Linked DNA regions of Homo sapiens: all the other regions are linked to region 2. The links are contacts of gene promoters, found by promoter capture Hi-C in human tissues and cell types (Jung and others, 2019). All regions are on one chromosome and are shown on one strand. The core of a region is centred on a gene start or on the middle of the fragment in contact, and the rest is flanking DNA. Distances in the headings are between cores, read along the strand shown.

The links. Contacts are between HindIII fragments. The study calls those that stand out against the background at their distance.
Region 1: a contact is called between a fragment that was not itself captured here and the fragment with the promoter of LINGO3 in region 2, in 4 of the 25 tissues and cell types used here (bladder, dorsolateral prefrontal cortex, spleen and 1 more).
Region 3: a fragment that was not itself captured here is called in contact with the fragment with the promoter of LINGO3 in region 2 in 6 of the 25 tissues and cell types used here (IMR-90 fibroblasts, dorsolateral prefrontal cortex, liver and 3 more).

What each region holds. Positions count from the first base shown.
Region 1 is chr19:2,209,072-2,213,270 of GRCh38, reverse strand. It overlaps DOT1L (DOT1 like histone lysine methyltransferase), which reads right to left. Exons shown (of 28, transcript NM_032482.3): 13 at 2,761-2,871; 14 at 2,416-2,650; 15 at 2,059-2,172; 16 at 1,429-1,520. It overlaps DOT1L-AS1 (DOT1L antisense RNA 1), which reads left to right. Exons shown (of 2, transcript XR_007067087.1): 2 at 1-1,243. Among named protein-coding and RNA genes, the nearest start is that of DOT1L-AS1, 4.4 kb to the left of the region's middle. The HindIII fragment of the contact is 3,245 bases long and covers 1-2,949 here.
Region 2 is chr19:2,305,597-2,309,667 of GRCh38, reverse strand. It overlaps LINGO3 (leucine rich repeat and Ig domain containing 3), which reads left to right and starts at 1,514. Exons shown (of 2, transcript NM_001101391.3): 1 at 1,514-1,592. The HindIII fragment of the contact is 18,961 bases long and covers 1-4,071 here.
Region 3 is chr19:2,410,585-2,415,229 of GRCh38, reverse strand. It overlaps TMPRSS9 (transmembrane serine protease 9), which reads right to left. Exons shown (of 19, transcript NM_001395513.1): 11 at 1,212-1,530. Among named protein-coding and RNA genes, the nearest start is that of TIMM13, 15 kb to the left of the region's middle. The HindIII fragment of the contact is 6,937 bases long and covers 1-4,645 here.

The DNA.
Region 1 (4,199 bases), core at 78-2,577, 96 kb after region 2:
CAGCCACGCAGAGGCCGGCCAATGCCAAGGAGTTTATCCCAAGGCAATACCAGGGGATGGACTTTTCACATGGATCTGCAAGGAAGCCTTCTGCAGCGTAACAGCAAACACTCAGTGTCCGGAGGCCCACCTCCAAGGGAAGACCCCAGGAGCCACTGACACAGGACAACCTTCAGACACCAGCAGAGAACAGGGCCCCGGCCCAGGCATGCTGTCAGCTACACAGTGAGCAATGCATGTGCATATATGCTCAAAGCACGCTGTAAGCTTTTTTTTAAAAGCAAAGCCAAAGTCCAAAATGCAAACCAGGGCTCAGGGACAGCCGACCTTGTGGCTCCAATGGCTTTTGGAGTTATCTCTGGGCCGCCAGAACTTCCACCCCATAGCCCGGCCCTAGCTCCCCACTAAAGCAGGTCCTCGGAGACTCCCAGGGCGGGGCCCCACAGCCGGGACCTCAGGTGAAGGAAATCATGTATACAGTGGTCCATTTCCAGGACAAACTGCCTTGAATTGGCTTAGGTCAGCAAACTACAGAAGAGACAGCATGTACTAGGCCCCTGCTTGGATCGCTGATGCCTGCTTGTCAGCCTCCCCTGCCCCCGCTTCCCCCGGCTTAGTTGCCCTCACCCGAACCAAAGAAGTTTAGCCTAAGATGAAGGTTTACCAGCCTGCAAAAGAGCTGGCTTTGTCTGTTCTTAATCAGCCTGCCCAGCTACTTAGATCATAAGTCAAATACTTGAACAGTCCCTGAGCTGACTGGGATTGCAATGCACAAAATGCAGCAGGACAACCCTAAAGAAAACACCTACAACCGGGCGTGGTGGCTCATGCCTGTAATCCCAGCACTTTGGGAGTCCGAGGCGGGAGGATCACGAGATTAGGAGATCAAGACCATCCTGGCCAACACAGTGAGACCCCGTCTCTACTAAAAATACAAAAAATTAGCCGGATGTGGTGGTGGGTGCCTGTAGTCCCAGCTACTTGGGAGGCTGAGGCAGGAGAATGGCGTGAACCCGGGAGGCGGAGTTTGCAGTGAGCCGAGATCACACCACTGCACTCCAGCCCCTGCCGAACCAATAGGCGACAACTGGGAAGACTGTGACCTCACAGTACTCAGCCTTTGAGGAACCGGGGGAGGGACCTGTGCACTAGGGGGAAGGTTGCTTGTTCAAACTGTGCTGGGTGTGCCTATCAGACACCAGGTCTTGCAAAACCATGATTAAAAGTCTCATTTTCGCTGTTTTCCGGGTCTCTCAGTCCATTCTTTGGGTTTAAACGGGTAGGTTTGTTTCTCGCAGCAGGTGAGCAGAGGAGGGAGCCCACTCAGGCCTGCGCTCCAGGGCCTCTGCCACAGGGGACAGATGCCCAGGAACAGGAACGAACTGCCTCTGTGCGGGAAGGCGGAATGCCAAGGGGGCCAGGACCCACCTTCTCCTGGCCCAGCAGCTCCTGCAGGCTGGCCTTGTACTGGGGGGTCTTTGTGTATGCCAGGAACTGCAGGTACTGGATCTTGAAGGACTCTGGGAAGAGAGGCGGAACACAGGTGAGAAGAGAGCAGCTGAGACTGAGAGGGAAGAGGTGGGAGCAGCCCTTGAGAACGAGTCCCAGGCCTCGGCAGGTGTCAGGCACTCATGAGGCAGGAGCTCAGCAGAGCCTGGCGGGGCCCATGCCACACGCCCCAAGCTCGCAGAGCACTCAGGCCCTCTGACCCCTGCGCAGCCAAGTGTTCACCGCGTGGGGCCATCCTGGGCACTGCAAGGCCCTGAGCAGCATCCCTGGCCTGCACCCACCCCATGCCAGCAACATCCCTAAGTTATGACAACTGCAGACGTCCCAAGTGTCACCCAGCATCTCCTGGGTAAGACCTCAGACAACCCACAGGCTGCATCTGAGCCTCTACTGACCCCTGCAGCAGGCAGACCCCAACCCTGGGTAAACTTCAGTGGGGTCCAGCATGGAGGTCACGGGGGCTGCTGCGAGGTCAGCGTCACAACCCACGGTCCTCCTGGGATGACCCCAAGCCCAGAACCCTTCGCCGGACGCCTCACACGGGCTCACCTAGAAGCTTCTGCAGCGCGGGCGGGGTGGGCGCCACCAGCAGCGGGTTGGGGGAGTGCCGCTGCACGCTCGGAGGTAGCTGGTAGAACGGGCTGTGAGGGGATCTGTAGGCATCTGGGAGAGCGGAGGGCAGGCGTCAGCACAGGGCGGGTCGGGAGAGCGGTGGGCAGAGGCGTCAGCATGGGGCAGGTGCCCAGCAACCCCTTAGGATGGGGCCACCCTGAAGGCACAGCCACAACAGGGAGGCTCCAGGGACACCCTGAACACACGGGGCTCAGGAGGGCAGCGTCCCAGCAGAGGGGACCCCAGGCATCCGCACTCGGGGAGAGCGGGGGCCGTGGCGTGGGGGCGGCTCACCCTGGGGTGAGGAGGCCGCCGTCTGAGACACGGTCTGAGCGTGCAGGGCATCCAGTGCAGTTTGGTTCTTCTTGGGCTTCCGCTCGGGGTTCGCAGTGTTCATCTTCTTGGGGCGCCCGCGCTTGCGGCCAGCCATCTTCCTCCCCTTCTTGTTTAGCTTCTTCTTGCGGGCTTTGGAGGGAGACGGCTTCTTCACGGTGGCTGCTCCCGCCTTCTCTTCCTCAGCACCAGAGTCCTGGAGGACACAAGGGAAGAACAGGGATGGGCACAGAGCCTCCCACCCATGGGGTCTCCCGGGCAGGGGGCGGGTGCCCTCCAGCAGCAGGAGCCAGGCTGGGGCCTTACCATGGGGGCGTCGGCGGGGCCGGCCACCTTGCCCTCTGGGCCCTTAGTGGGCGTGGCCGCGTTGCTCTTGCTCTCGCGCTGCTGGCGGCGCCGGGCTGCCTCCTGTTCCTCCTGGAAGGAGAGCAGGTTGAGCCACAGGAAGCCCCAGCGCTGCCCACGGCCCTCCTGCACCGAGAGGCACGCGGAGCTCAGACTCAAGGGGGCCACGGGCCCAACTCTGTCCACTGCAAGTCCTCTGTGGCACAAATCAGGAAACTGAGGCCCAGAGACAGCAGTGGGCTGCTTGGGGCCCCGCAGGCCAGGACGTGACCCGTGGGCACGGATAACGGCATTCACAGCCACTCCCACAATCACAGATGCCTGTCAGTAAGAAGCCAGACTGTGAGCCACAGAGAAAAAGAACCACATCCAAGACAGGAGACGAGAAGCCCCTCAGGCAGCAGGACCTAGAAGCCACAGCCCACAGCCTCCCCTGCCCTCTCTCCTCTCTTCGAAAGGCACCGAGGCCCACACATGGGACGCCATGCACAAGTTCTCTGATGTGAGTTAGTGGAGGGCGCGACCCACGGGAAGGGGAACACAGGGTGCGCCGGCCACCTCGGGCCGTTCCCTGCTCTCCAGGGAAGACCCACATCCCCCTAAGCATGGTGGGAAGGACAGAGGGCCCCCGAGGGGTACCAGGCTCTGAGGCCGGGTTGGAGCCCAGCCCTGGCTACAAATCCAGGCAGTGACAGAGCCCTTCCTGTACGGGGTTCTCCGCATGCTGGTCTTGTCTGACCCCCTCCAAAAGGAAAGGACGCCCGGACAAACATCCTCTCAGCTTTGGTGGCAAATAAGCAGGCAGGTCTGAGGCTGCAGAAGCGCCAGCGGGCAGGGCGGCCACTGTGGCTCCCCAAGCCAGGCTTTCCCACCGCTGCTTTAAGGTGGGAGAGGAGGGGACAGCCCTGCCTCCGACGGTGCAGCGCGTGCAGGGCGCGGGGGCCCAGGAGCTGCACTCTGCACCGAGGGTGGGACAAGCGCACATGTGTGGCCCCCCAGGCCTCAAGAGGGGGCAGCCAGCAGTGACGCACAAGCTTTTCACCCACCCAGCCCTTCAGTGCAACTCACCCCACCACCAAAACTAAGCCAAGCCACCTCCCCAAAAATAAGTATTAACAAGGGGAAGGATGTCCCAGGCCAAACCATCAAAGACAAGGCAAAGCATGAAGACAGGCAAAGAGACAGAGAGAGGGTGGGAGAGAGAGAGAAACGGAGAGGGAGGGTGGGGGAGAGAGAGAGAGATTGAATGGTGAGAGAAAAGGGCTGGGAGAGGAGAGGAAGAGGGGGAGGACAGGGAGGAAAGGGTAGGGAGAGGACCAGGAGTGACAGTGGGGAGGAGCAGGAAGGAGGCGGGAAAGGGCACAGGGCCGGGCCCCGAGGGGCGGCAGGGCTGTGCTCCA
Region 2 (4,071 bases), core at 265-2,764:
TGTGGCTTTTAGAAGATGCAGTGAGGGGCCGGGCATAGTAGCTCACGTCTGTCATCCCAGCACTTTGGGAGGCCGAGGCGGGTGGATCACCTGAGGTCAGGAGTTCGAGACCAGCCTGGCCAACATGGTGAAACTCTATCTCCCCTAAAAATACAAAAATTAGCCAGGCATGGTCATGGGCGCCTGTAATCCCAGCTACTTGGGAGACTGAGACAGGAGAATCGCCTGAACCCGGGAGGTGGAAGTTGCAGTGAGCCAAGATTGCACCACTGCACTCCAGAATGGGTGACGAGAGCAAAACTCCATTTCAAAAAAAAAAAAAAAAAAAAAAGACAAAAAAAAAGGTAAAAAACTTTCCATGAGCACTCGCAGTGCACTTGGTGTGTGCGCTGCTGTGTGCTAGGCGGAAGGCACATTGGGGAACAAGCCCATTAGACAAACTGAGAGGCTCCAAGCTGCTCGATGGAGGGACAGAGAGAAAGGCTGTCCAAGCTGGGCACAGCGAAGATCAAAGGCCTGGGACTGGAGGGACTTGGCCTGTTTGAGGAAGGCTGAGGGGGTGGAGCCCGGGAAAGAGTGAGTGAGGACAGGCCAGGGGGAAGGAGGTGGTGCGGCAGACCAAACAGTGCAGGCAGCCGGGCGGTGGCTCACACCTGTCATCCCAGCACTTTGGGAGGCCGAGGTGGGTGGATCACCCGAGGTCAGGGGTTTGAGACCAGCCTGGCCAACATGCTGAAAATCCGTCTCTAATAAAAATACAAAAATTAGCCGGGCGTGGTGGCGGGTGCCTGTAATCCCAGCTACTTGGGAGGCTGAGGCAGGAGAATCGCTTGAACCCAGGAGGCGGAGGTTGCAGTGAGCCAAGATGGCACCGCTGTACTCCAGCCTGGGCAACAGAGCAAGACTCCATCTCAAAAAAAAAAAGAAAGAAAGAAAGAAAGAAAGAACGAAAGAAAGAGAAATTCCAGGGTAGGTGGGGTGCAGACGGGACCCTCACGGCAATAGGGAATCACGGCAGGTTCTGGAGCCCAGTGGCTAAGCTTCCTCTGAGGGGCTTCCTCTGAGGGCCACATAAGGAATGGGCCTGGGCTGGGCTGTGGCAGATGTCCAGGTGCAGATGGTGGCGGCCTGGACTAGGGGTGGGGGACGGGGGGCAGAGGAGGCGATGGTAGCTTCCAGAAGGTTCCACACGGAACAACCTGCTGCACTTGGGGTGCCCCTGCGTTTATTGCACGGCACGGCCGTCTCCGCAGGCTCACCCAGGCCGTGGGGACAGGAGGTCCTCGGACACGAAGCGCCCGGGATGCGCACGGAGGGGTTCTGCACCCGCGCTCCCAGTGTCCCCGCACCTGCGCCCACGTGGCCTCTCACACCTGCGGCCCCAGCCGCCGCGCACGCGGCCCAGCGCAGCCCCCGCGCGCCCCCGCCAGGCGCGCCGAGGAGACCGGCGGGCGGTTGCGCGCGGCGGCGGCGCGCACGGCGGAGCCCGGGAGGCGGCGGCGGCGGCGGCGGCGGCGGCGGCGGCTGCTCGTGTCGGCTCCGGGCGGCCCCCGCGCCGCAGCCCGCGCCGTGTCCGCGGCGGAGCCGCCCAGGTGAGTGGCCGTGCCGGGGCCCGGCGTGGGGCGCGCCCGCAGACCTGGGGACCCCTCACCTGCACCCTGCGACCCTGCCGCCCAAAGCCCCCAACCCGCGACCCCATCCTCAGCCGGGGGAAATTGCCCCGCGCACCCCTCCCGGGCTCATCGCTCCTTGCCAGGCCCCCGACGCTCCCCCTGGAAACTTTGGGGGCGAACTCCCCACCCTGGGGCCCCCCGCCCCTCCTCTGGGGCGCCAAGGAGCGGGGAATCGGGTGGGCATCTCCCCGGGGCACTGGGGACGCTGGGAGGATGCGCTCCTCTCCAGGAGGAGATGAAGGGGGCACTGGTTGGGTCTGGGGTGTGGGGAACGTCCGAATAGAGCCTGCAGCCCGCGCCTTCCTGCCCTGTCTCCCCCGAGCCGGGTCTGGTCCAGCCTGGGGGTGCGGAGCTGGAAGACGCAAAGGGTATCTGGGGTCCACACCGGAGCCTGCTCCATCGCTGGAGCTGACGGCCCGGCCTGGCGGGGAGGGACCTGGGGGCATAGGGCTGAGTCCCCCTGCTCTGGGGGCGTCTGAATAGCACCAGAAATGGTGGGCCTGGGCACCCTGAGTGGGTGCCGCCACCTCCCGGGCCTCTGGGGCCTGGCCAGGGGAGGCCCTGAGTCCCATTCAACAAGTTTAGGGGAGCAGCACCTCGTGCCTTGGTCCGGGCACAAGAAAAGCCCCGGGTCCTTACGCTGGAGACCACCATGTAACTGGGTTTCTCAACGTGTGCTTGGGGCGCTAACGGTGCCGGTGTCCCGGCCCCCCCAGTTCTGAGGAGTCAGAACTTCTGAGGCGATGTGCCCCAGAAGCTGCATTTTAGCAAGCGGTCCCTGGCTAAACCATGGACGCAGCGAGGCTGCAGACACCCTTGCTCCGGCGGGGGTGGGGAGCGGGCGTCTGCTGTGCAGTGGTATTTGCAGAGGGACGATCTGGGGCTTGGCTGGGGGGAGCCTTCAGGGACAACAGAGCTGTGAGAACCAGAGCAACCCAGGAGGGCTCCCTGGAAGTGGCCTGGAGAGGATGCAGAAGGTGTGAGGTGTGAGTGGTCAGGTGGAGGACGCAGGCTGGAAACAGGTTCAGGGAGGGTGGTGCTGGCTTTATCAGGAGGCTGGTGTGGGGTGGGCTGCCGCGGCATGGCCTTACCCTGGCTGTTCTCTGAGCCGAAGCAGCAGCCATCGTCGGAGACAGGATCTGAGTGGGAAGAACCCACGGGCTTCCCCTGTAGACCCAGCTCCTGTCCCCATCTCGATGATGTGGGGTGGCAGGAAGGGGGCAGCCGGGCGGTGGGATGGGGGCTTAGGAGGGTTCAACTCAGCCTTCCCTGCCCTGCCTGTCTGGTCTTCACCGGTGACTTCCGGCAAATGACGTCCCCTCTCTCAGATCCACCCCACATGGGATTAAATGAGATGCTGCCCACCTCGGCTGCAGTGTGGTGCCACCATAAAACAGATGCTCAGGTCACGATGGTTACGGCAGCAGCCCTGCCTGGCCTCCCTCAGCCTCAGCCGTCCACCCCCAGGGTAAGCCGGGACCTGAAGGTGCCTTGCTGAGTGGGAATAGAAGGCAGTTTGATGTCTCTTCCCACAGCACTGTCATTCCCCGGCGCCCCCTGAGTCACTACCTCGTCACCAGGTAGAGCCTCTTGAAGAACTCTGCGAGCAAAGTTGGCCCCGGGTGGGCCCCATCAAGCCGCCCACCACCACATGTCAATCTCGGGCCTCCAAAGAGCGCCCTTCACCCTCTAGTGGGGAGCTGGGATTTTGTGGGTAGGAGCTGGCGTCAGATCCAGGTTCAAATGCTGACTGTCTGCAGCTAAGTTGTGCAGTGAGCTGGGGCCCACTCTGACCCTCAGTCTCCTTCTCTCCAAAACGAACTTTATTATTCCCCCTAGTCAGGGCTGGGCTAGTGGGTGAAGTGGCCGGTGTAGACAGTGGGTGCTCCAAAACTGGTTCCAGATCCAGAGGCCCTGCCTGCAGAGGGCAGTCCACGGCCCCCCGTGTACAGGCTGGGAAGGAAAGTGGGTCGGGAGGCCCCCAGCCCCTCGAGGGGTTGACGGGGACTAACAGCAGATGGAAGCTAATTAGGGCTTAATGAATTGTCATGGATGAAGCCCCGGGAGGGCCTGGATCTAGGGCAGAGGATGCAGGGGTCCTGGGGGACTGGCAGCGTGTCCCCAAAAGCAGACCTTGGAGGGCCACGTGCTGTGAGGGGCTGGGCCCCCTCCTCCCATATCCGTCTTAGAAGCTCAAACGGGGCATCCAGAGCACACTCCCCTTACTCCCACCGCCCTGGTTGTGGTGGGGGGCAGAGGGAGGGAGATGGAGGTCACTGTGGGCCTGGAAACAGAGGGGACCGCTACCACACTTCTCACTCCTGCCCCCTCTGGGTTTGGCCGGCCTCTAGGAGGGCCTTTCCCAAGGGAGATGTCAGCATCCCTTGCCCTGGGCGGG
Region 3 (4,645 bases), core at 532-3,031, 110 kb before region 2:
CTCATGCCTGTTATCCCAGCACTTTGGGAGGCCAAGGCGGGCAGATCACCTGAGGTCAGGAGTTCGAGACCAGCCTGGCCAACATGGCGAAACCCCAACTCTACTAAAAATACAAAAATTAGCCAAGCATGGTGATGGGCACCTGTAATCCCAGCTATTCAGGAGGCTGAGGCAGGAGAATCACTTGAACCGGGAGGTGGAGGTTGCAGTGAGCCGAGATCACACCACTGCACTCCAGCCTGGGCGACAAGAGTGAAACTCCGTCTCAGAAAAAAAAAAAAAAAAAAATAGGAATGCAACTAACAGTTTTTGGAAACAGAGATATAGTCCTACAAGTTTTCTTTTTTCTTTTTCGAGATGGAGTTGTGCTCTTGTTGCCCGGGCTGGAGTGCAGTGGCACCATGTCACCGTATCAGCTCACTGCAACCTCCGCTTCCTGGGTTCAAGCGATTCTCCTGCCTCAGCCTCCCAAGTAGCTGGGATTACAGGTGCCCTCCACCATGCCCAGCTAATTTTTAGTATAGATGGGGTTTTGCCATGTTGGCCAGGCTGGTCTTGAACTCCTGACCTCAAGCGATCTGCCCACCTCTGCCTCCCAAAGTGTGCGATGACAGGCACGAGCCACCGCACCCTGCCAGTCCTACAAGTTGTCTGGGTACAAACTATTTGAAAATACAATAGAAAGTATTCCAGACCGGGCATGGTGGCTCACACCTGTCATCCCAGCATTTTGGGAGGCTGAGGTGGGCAGATGATGAAGTCAGGAGTTCGAGGCCAGCCTGACCAACATGGGGAAACCCCGTCTCTACTAAAAATACAAAAATTAGCCGGGTGTGGTGGCCTGTGCCTGTAATCCCGGCTGTTCAGGAGGCTGAGGCAGGAGAATCACTTGAACCTGGGAGGCGGAGGTTGCAGTGAGCCGAGATCACGCCACTGCACTCCAGCCTGGGCGACGGAGCAAGACTGCGTCTCAAAAAAAAAAAAAAGTATCCCATTGATAGATCGCCATAGTTAACAAGACATGGGCAAGACCTGTGGACAGAAAGATACCATGAGGGTACACGCAACGTAAGATGGGAATAAACGGATACACATGTGACCTTTCCTTGAACAGGAAGATCCAAAATTATGAAGATACTATGACGATATCCGTTCTCCCTAAATCAAGATAGGCACGTACATCATCTTCTACCTTTCTGCCCCGAAAATACCTTGTAGCTTAGGAACGGTGACCCAGTCAAGAGGCACGGTACTGAGGGCCTGCATCGATTTGGTGGGGGTGCTGACCACAGGGCTCTCAGGACTGGTGGGCCAGGCTGTGCTGGGGGCGGCAGGGGCAGGAGCCATGGTGGGGGCCAGAGGCATGCTGGCTTTGGTGGTGGCCTCCAGGATCCAGTCACGTAGCCTGGTGACTCGGGCATAGACCCCTGGACGCCGGGCTTCCGCACACCCGATTCCCCAGCTCACGATGCCAGCCAGAAAGAACCGGCCAGAGGGCTCCTCGCAGACCAGGGGTCCTCCTGAGTCACCCTAGGAAACCAACACACACCCTCAGGATGGGTCGGCAGCAGCCAGTCCAGACACCAGTGCTACGAGGCCCAAGAAGGAGCTCTGAGCTGGGACAGCCAGGACCTCTCTCCACACAAGCTCACAGAGCACCTGGGGCTGATCATTGACATCTCAGAACCTGTTTCCTCTTCTGTGGAGGAAAAAAAACAAAACCCAAGACAGTTGGACTATAGGATCTCTAAGATGTCTTTCAGTCCTACCTCTGGCAGGCCAAAACGTGACCCAAATAAATAACATCCCCTCCTCTTCTTAACTCAGTAGATCTTTGATAATGTCACCACTTGCTTAGGCTGGCAGTATGGCTGCCACGCGGGTGCCTCCATATATCTCACTGGTAGCTGCAGCATTGCTCCCAAAGTGCTCATCTGCTGTCACTCGTCCGGCCTCACCATTTTTTACCTTCCCATATCCAGTTCACCCTGACCCTTACGTTCTGTGTATCGTTTTTTTGTTTGTTTTTGTTTTTGAGATAGAGTTTTGCTCTGTTGCCCAGGCTGGAGTGCAATGGCGTGATCTCGGCTCACTGCAACCTCCTCCTCCCAGGTTCAAGCAATTCTCCTGCCTCAGCCTCCCAAGTAGCTGTGATTATAGGCACGCATCACCACGCCCGGCTAATTTCTTGTATTTTTAGTAGAGACGGGGTTTCACCATGTTGGCCAGGCTGGTCTTGAACTCCTGACCTTAAGTGATCTGCCCACCTCAGCCTCCCAAAGTGCTGGGATGACAGGCGTGAGCCACCGTGCCTGGCCGACTCTTACATTCTTAAACATGAGCCCTCTCATTAGTTCCTAGCATTTTCTCCAGATTCTGGTTTCAATATGGCAATCTAAGCACATGTAGCAGTCTCTCCCATCTTTTCCTCACCCACCAGGCCTTAGAAACAAGAGCAAAGGTATGCACAAGAAAGACAGGAATCCACAGCCATGCTAAAAAAATTAGGCAGGAGAGATCCCTGGTTGTGGACCAGAAACCATGAAGACTCACGAGAGGCTGACAGAGGAAGTGGCAGCCCAGCCCATGTGCAGAAGCTCAAGACACAAGAGAAAGCTTTCTCAAGAGGACCTGGGTTGGTTGGGGTAGAAAAGGGATTTGGGCAACCACAAAGGATAAATGAGACCAGGAGGTCTTTGGTCCCTTGAAAGGGTACATAGAATCCAAGAACACAAACTGTTAATGTCCCTCGCCAAGAGAAAGTGAATAGCAAATATAAGATCACGGCAAGAATTGAGCGACATTTTTAAATTTTCAATTTTGTTTGAGACGGCGTCTCACTCTGTCACTCAGGCTAGAGTACAGTGGCGTGATCTTGGCTTACTGCAACCTCCACCTCCTGGGCTCAAATAATCCTCCCACCTCAGCCTCTCAAGTAGCTGGGACTACAGGCATGCACCACCAAACCCAGCTAATTTTTGTTTTTGTTTTTGTTTTTGTAGAGACAAAAGTTTTGCTATGTTGCCCTAACTGGTCTCAAACTCCTGGCCTCAAGCGACCTGGCTGCCTCAGCCTCCCAAAGTACTGGGATTACAGGTGTGAGCCACTGCACCCAGCTTTTCATTCTTAAGCACCAGTTGAGGGATTCCAATCTCCATGAAATAAAGACACTCAGTTACAACAGAATAACTTACGTTTGCCTGAAATACAGTTAACCACAAATATAGAATATAGAAGAAACATAACGGATTAAATTACGATCCTCAGAGAAAAAGAAAGAAATGGTATCCACGAAACAAGAACAGGACACTGCAAACAAGACCAGGTGGCTGAAAGAAGAAAGAATGAGACACCTTGAAAACAAAAATTATAATTGTCGGCCGGGCCTGGTGGCTCACACCTGTAATCCTAGCACTTTGGGAGGACAAGGTGGGCAGATCACCTGAAGCCAGGATTTCGAGACCAGCCTGGCCAACATGGCGAAACCCTGTCTTTACTAAAAGTATAAAAATTATCCAGGCGTGGTGGTGGGCACCTGTTATTCCAGCTACTCGGGAGGCTGAGGCATGAGAACCACTTGAAACTGGGAGGTGAGCCAAGATGGTGCCACTGCACTCCAGCCTGGGTGACAGAGCGAGACAGTGTCTTAATTAAAAATACAAAAATTAGCTAGGTGTGGTGGCGCATGCCTATAATCACAGCTACTCTGGAGGCTGAGGCAGGAGACTCGCTTGAACCTGGGAGGCGGAGGTTGCAGTGAGCTGAGATCACACCACTGCACTCCAGCCTGGGTGACAGAGTGAGACTCCATCTCAAAAAAAAAAAAAAAGAAGAAGAAGAAAAAGAAGGTTCCAGGTATACAGCAGAAGCAGCTTTGGATGACCCCTGATTTTCTCTTTTTTTTTTTTTTTTTTTTTTTTTTTTTTTTTTGAGACAGAGTCTTGCTTTGTCGCCCAGGCTGGAGTGCAATGGCGTGATCTCAGCTCACTGCAACCTCCAGCTCCCAGGTTCAGATGATTCTCCTGCCTCAGCCACCCGAGGAGCTGGGATTACAGGCACCTGCCACCACGCCAGGCTAATTTTTGTATTTTTAGTAGAGACAAGGTTTCGCCATGTTGCTCAGGCTGGTCTCAAACTCCTGACCTCAAGTGATCCACCCGCCTTGGCCTCGCATAGTGCTGGGATTACAGGCGTGAGCCACCGTGCCCAGCCCTGGAACCTTCTTGAGTTGAGCCTGCAGCTCACTCATGGCCCAGCTGACCACCCAGGGGCAAAAGTCCACGGGGTTCCCATAGACCAACCCTTCCCATACAGACGGAGAGAATCTGATGCCCAGGGTATGTGCTGGCATCATTCATACAAGAGGTGTTTCTTGGGTGCCACGTTGTATCAGGCCCAGTGCTGGGAACAGTGTCTGTGTCCCCACACAAGTCCCGGTTTGGAGGGCAGCTGGGGGGGATTTACACAGGGACCCCATCATAGCCAGGGAGATTACTCAGGGACCCCAGGCTCTGTGGCACGCACCTGGGGCCCACTGGAAGGGAGCAGGGAGCCATGGAGGGCAGAGGAGGGATTGAAGTCAGGTTAGAGCTTCTGGAAGATCCTCTAAGCAGCACCTGCCTCTCAATCCCAACTGCTTTAAAAT